2 separate regions of the Homo sapiens genome follow, and region 1 is linked to region 2. Evidence: promoter capture Hi-C in 16 types of primary human blood cells and fetal thymus (Javierre and others, 2016). All regions are on one chromosome and are shown on one strand. Each heading gives the region's core, a stretch centred on a gene start or on the middle of the fragment in contact. The rest is flanking DNA. Distances are from core to core; before and after follow the strand shown.

Evidence for each region. Contacts are between HindIII fragments. The CHiCAGO score rates a contact against its expected background, and 5 or more counts as called.
Region 1: a fragment that was not itself captured here is called in contact with the fragment with the promoter of B4GALT6 in region 2 in 2 of 17 cell types (M0 macrophages and M1 macrophages); the score reaches 7.8 in M0 macrophages.

The regions. Positions count from the first base shown.
Region 1 is chr18:31,568,689-31,571,388 of GRCh38, forward strand. No RefSeq gene overlaps it. Among named protein-coding and RNA genes, the nearest start is that of DSG2-AS1, 13 kb to the left of the region's middle. The HindIII fragment of the contact is 5,620 bases long and covers 1-2,700 here.
Region 2 is chr18:31,683,140-31,685,839 of GRCh38, forward strand. It overlaps B4GALT6 (beta-1,4-galactosyltransferase 6), which reads right to left and starts at 1,442. Exons shown (of 9, transcript NM_004775.5): 1 at 1,173-1,442. The coding sequence starts at 1,287. RefSeq lists a silencer at 1,539-2,578. The HindIII fragment of the contact is 10,803 bases long and covers 1-2,700 here.

The sequences.
Region 1 (2,700 bases), core at 195-2,694, 110 kb before region 2:
AACTATGAGCCAAATAAACCTCTTTTCTATATAAATTACCCGGTTTCAGGTATTCCTTTATGGCAACACAAAATGGAGTAGGACACCTAGACATCCAGGTTTATAAATGTAGACACATATATACGTGCATTTTCACACATAGCTTGTTAGAATGTGTGTGTCGCTGGGGCTCTTTTATCTATACACTTGGAAAAAGGCGTCTGCTTCATTTTATTTTTGCCTTTGCTCACCTCGGCTCCTTTATTTCTGATACTAGCAACTCAAGAAAGGGGCATTTTAATTCAATCAACCAAGAAAATCAATCCCAATTGACCTCGGGACCATATTTTTATTTTCATTGAAAGTTAACTAAAATTATTGAAAAGAATGAAAAATAATAAGAAACAGAAAAACCTAATAGCTTGGAACAACATGTATTCGCTAATTTTGTTTACTAATACCTCCATCCAGGGGAGTTATTTCTAGCAAGATTCTTTTTTATTTTTATTTTTATTTTTTTTTTTTTTGAGCGGAATCTCACTCAGTCATCCAAGCTAGAGTGCAGTGGTGCCATCTCAGCCCACTGCAACCTCTGCCTCCCAGGTTCCAGTGATTCTCCTGCCTCAGCCTCCTGGGTAGCTGGGATTACAGGCACATACCACCATGCCCGGTTAATTTTTTGTATTTTTAGTAGAAACGGGGTTTCACCACGTTGGCCAGGCTGGTCTCGAACTCCTGACCTCAAACAATCTGCCCACCTCGGTCTCCCAAAGTATTGGGATTACAGGCGTGAGCCACCATGCCTGGCCTGCAAGATCCTTTTTTATTGAGGCAATTAAAAGTTAGAAGAGAAGAAATGGCTGTGTAAAAATAGGAGCAGATAGAAAATGAGAATGGCCGGGTGCAGTGGTTCATGCCCACAATCCCAACTCTTTGGGAGGCCAAGGCTGGTGGATCACCTGAGGTCAGGAGTTCAAGACCAGCCTGCCCAACATGGCAAAACCCTGACTCTACTAAAAATACAAAAAATTAGCTGGGTGTGGTGGTGGGCACCTGTAATCCCAGCTACTCAGGAGGCTGAGGCAGGAGAATCGCTTGAACCCGGGAGGCAGAGGTTGCAGTGAGCCAAGATCACGCCTAGGAGTGCAAAAAAAAAAAGAAGAAAAGAAAAGAAAATGATAATCTTACCATCTCAGCCCTCAAGTAAAAGTAAAGGGCAGGGCTAAGTCAGCAGAATGATCAGGAAACTGATTCCACAGCCCTATTGCCTAAATAGGGAGGGACAAACAAGATTCAGGCATTTCCCTCTTGGTCTACATGTGGATTAGGTCCCCCACCAGTAAAAACTCCTCCCTAATAGTTCTCACAGTTGTTCACCTAAACCTGAGCAGTGCTCTGGGGTGCATTAGCTGGTGAGAAGCTCTCCTTGCTTGAGCCAGTTTTAGGAGAAGGAACAGTGGGATTGAAAGTCACTAGGGAGCTAGCCTATGGCCAAGTGCTATGAATGGCCTGCCATGTTCCAGAAACCCCCATGTGAGATCTTTCTCTGGGTTAAAGCTCCATGGTTGCTAATTGCTGTGAGAGTGATAGAGTCCCCTAAGTCTAATCAAGCCTGGAAGCTGAAGGACATTGTGTGGACTTGGGCCTTGAGAGGTTCCCGAACTCCAGAATTCTGCAAGTTATATGACTTTCATTTAAATTTTCTTTTTAATTGAGAAGGAGTCTCACTCAGCCACCCAGGGTGGGGTGCAGTGGCTTGATCACAGCTCACTGCAGACTCACACTCCTGAGCTCAAGCAATCCTCCTGCCTCAGCCTCCTAAGTAGCTGGGACTATGGGATATGCCACTATGCCCAGCTAATTATTTTTTGGTAGAGATGAGGTCTCACTACACTGCCCAGGCTGGTCTTGAACTCCTAGCCTTAAGCGATCCTCCTGCCTTGGCCTCCCAAAGTGCCGGGATTACAAGCATAAGCCACCATGCCTGCAGTTATATGACAATGATTGTTTCTCTTTAAACGAGGAAGCATTAGCTCAGAGAAATGAGAAATCTCTGTATGTAGTAGATGATGCAAACCATGCTAAAATAAACACATATAATTGGAGAAGCTAAGATCATTCTTAAAGCTAGGTCAGTCATTCCAGCTGCCAATCAAAACCTGCACACAAAAACCTGGACATAAGTATTTATAGTAGCTTTATTTATTTATAATTTGGCATAGTTGATGCCAAAACTTGGAAGCAATCAAGTTGCCCTTCAATAGGTGAGTGGATAAACAAATTGTAGTGCATCCACACAACAAAATACGATTCAACGATAAAAAGAAATGAGGTATCAGGCCATGAAAAGACATGAAGAAATTTTAAATGCGTATTACTAAGTGAAAGAAGCCAATCTGAAAAGGCTACATACTATATGATTCCAACTATCTGACATTCTGGAAAATGCAAAACCATGGAGACAGTCAAAAGACCAGTGGTTGCCAGGGGTTGCAGGGGAGGTAGGGAAAGAGAGGGGGATAACTAGGCGGAATACAGGGGGATTTTAGGGCAGTGAAACTATTCCATATGATACGGTGATGGCGGATATGTGTTATCATACAATTGTCAAAACCTCATTCAACACAAAGTGGATCCTAATGTAAACTATGGACTTCAGTTGAGAATAATGCATCAATATTGGCTATCAGTTACAACAAATGCACCGCACCGATGCAAGAA
Region 2 (2,700 bases), core at 192-2,691:
AGAAAAAGTCTCATAGTAATTTTAAGAAATGAAGCAGTCTGGATTAGGTTTCCATCTTCCTTCCCTGCTGCAATTCACTGCAATAATCTACTACACTCAAGACAATGCCCTGATCATTCCATCTGAAAATTCTGCAGGTGTTTTCACTCTGTAAGGGGCATTACATTTTTAGCTAACTCGGAACAAAGAGCACTGGCTCAAACGACCACAGTGTGTAAGGAGAAATGAGAGGAGATGCTCACTGTTACTAAGTAATTGAACATTAAATACGTAATAGCCAGGAAAAACTCAGAAAAGTTTTGGAAATATGACATATTTTAATATGCATGTGAAGTTCATAATTCTCATTCACTAGAATTAACGCCGCATTGGCTCCTTTTCAACAAATGGGGGACGAGGAATTCGGATATTTAATAAAGAAGTTAATTCAAGCAGTTTTACAAAAGTGTATTTTGCACCAAAGGCCAAAAAATGATAAACCGGTTAACATTTTAAACTACAAGTTCCCTTAGATAACGGTTATTTTAATCACTATTTTCTCAGAAGTCATCCTAACAGGTAGCAAAGGCAACGTACCCTTGAAAATAACACCCAAGCAGACTAAAATAATGGAGCATTGTTTTTACAAGACAACTCATCGCCTTAAAATTCCCCAAGTATGGCACAAAAAGAATGGGGTCCACTGACCCCATTCTAAAAAAGCGACCTAGGACCCTAGAAAACACACATTGTTGGACTCAATCACATTCCCTGCTGCTGGCTCCTCCATATTTTTACAACCAGTTATTATACCCGAGAGTGTTTGAATAAAACTACGATTAAGCACTCAGTTTAGGCTTAAAGACTTAACATTAAATGGATAAAGCTGTCATGAACACTCAAGAAAGCGACTAGGGCATCCCGGGCCATCACACTAATTTTGCTACGTCTATTTAATGCAATCTTTTACGTTATTAACAAACATGCATTAACAAAATGCATGCATTAACAAAACTCACATACCAAAGCCATGCCCTGAAGCAGTTTGACACGTCTGAAATAACATTTAAAACAAAACGCTTTTCTGCGGGCCCCTGTTTGAACAGCTTCCAAATCCCAGAAGTAACATCGGATAACAGCCTGCGCTGGCTGTGGTGTGACCAGGGGAAGCGAGGGTGTGTCTCGGTGCTTACCGATGCCTGGGGCCACATAGATGAAGTACAGACAGGACGAAGAGAGGGAGAAGAAGAAGATGAAGGCGAGGAGAGAGCGATTGGAAACCCGCATCATCCGCCTGAGCACAGACATCTTCCTCTTCCCTGCCAGCAGCCCAGGCTGCGCTCTCAGGCCGGACTCGGGGCCACTGTCCAGGCCCTAAACTTCCATAAATGTGCTGAGAACCCCGAGACTGCAGCGGGGTCCGCGCGGGGAGGCTCTGGGGAGAGGGCCCGAGCGGAAAAGAGGAAATGGGAGGGAGCGGACGGAATGAATGGGAGGCCAGAGAGTCGGGGGAGGGGAGGCGCGGAGGCCGAGGGACAAGAGGTGGAGGGGGGAGAGGGGACTGGGGGCTAGGGGCCCGGGGACGGCAGGACGGAAGAAAGCCGGGGAAGGGCGAGGAGGAGCGTTTTCTCCGCCAAGCAGCGGCGGGAGGAGGGGCTGCAGGTGGGAGGAGGCGCAGGCTGCGCGCCGCGGCGCCCCTGCGGAGAGGGGCAGCTAACTGCAGCACGCCCGGCTCCGCTGCCCGCGCCCGGCGGGGTCCCGCCGCGAAGCCCCGTGCTTAAGGTCCGGGCCGCCCGCGTCCGCTCGGCAGGCCCTGCGCCGCCTCCTACTCCGGGCCGCGGCGTCTCCTGCCTGCGCGGGGCTAGCGTGGGCGCCGGGGCCGCAACCAGCGCGCGCCACGCGCGGGGGCCCGCGGGGGCCCTCGGGGCCGAGGAGCTGGGCGCTCGCCTGCACCGAGCCGCCTCCTCATGCCGCGCCGGGCCCCGGCGCCCCGCGGCCGCCGCGGGAGCTGAGCACAGGCCAGGGCGGCGTCCCGGCCAGCGACGAACGCGCTCCGACTCCGGCCGCCGCCAGCTGCCTGCCTGGCCGCAAGGGCGGCAGCGGCATTACCGCCGCGCGCCCGGGGTGAGGCGCCCCCGCCGGGCCCGCGGACACCAGGCGAAGAGCAACCGGGCGACGCGCGCTGCGGGCAGAGCCGGGGAGCCGGAAGAGCAGAGGCCGAGCGCCGTCGGAGCCGCGTCTGGTTGGAGAAAGAGGCGGACGTGAAGGGGCGGGGGAGCCGCGGAGGAAAACCGGGACCGGCGGGAACGTCTCGAGACCCCTGCGCGCTTCGCGCGCTCGCTCGGAACTCGGCAGGCGGCGCTGCGCCGGGCCCCGAGGAAACCTGGAGGTCCCCGCCCTCCCCGCGCCCGAAACACCGCGCGTCCTGATAGGCCCGCGCCCAGCAGCCCCCTCCCCGCGCCCGCCGCACCGGGGCCCCACCGCCTCCTGCGTCACCGCCGCCCCCGCCCGCCCGGGGACCCCGCGGTGACCGCGCTGCTGGGGGTTGAGGGACGCGTTGCGAGCCCCGGATACATTGTACCCTGGGGGTACATAATGAAGGATGCTGTACCTGAAAGGAAAAGGGCATCTCCAAAAGGGGACTTCGCGGGTGGAATTTCCTTCCAAAATCCTCGAGGAACAAGGTGTATTTCCGACCTGGATTAATGAATCCCCCCTCCT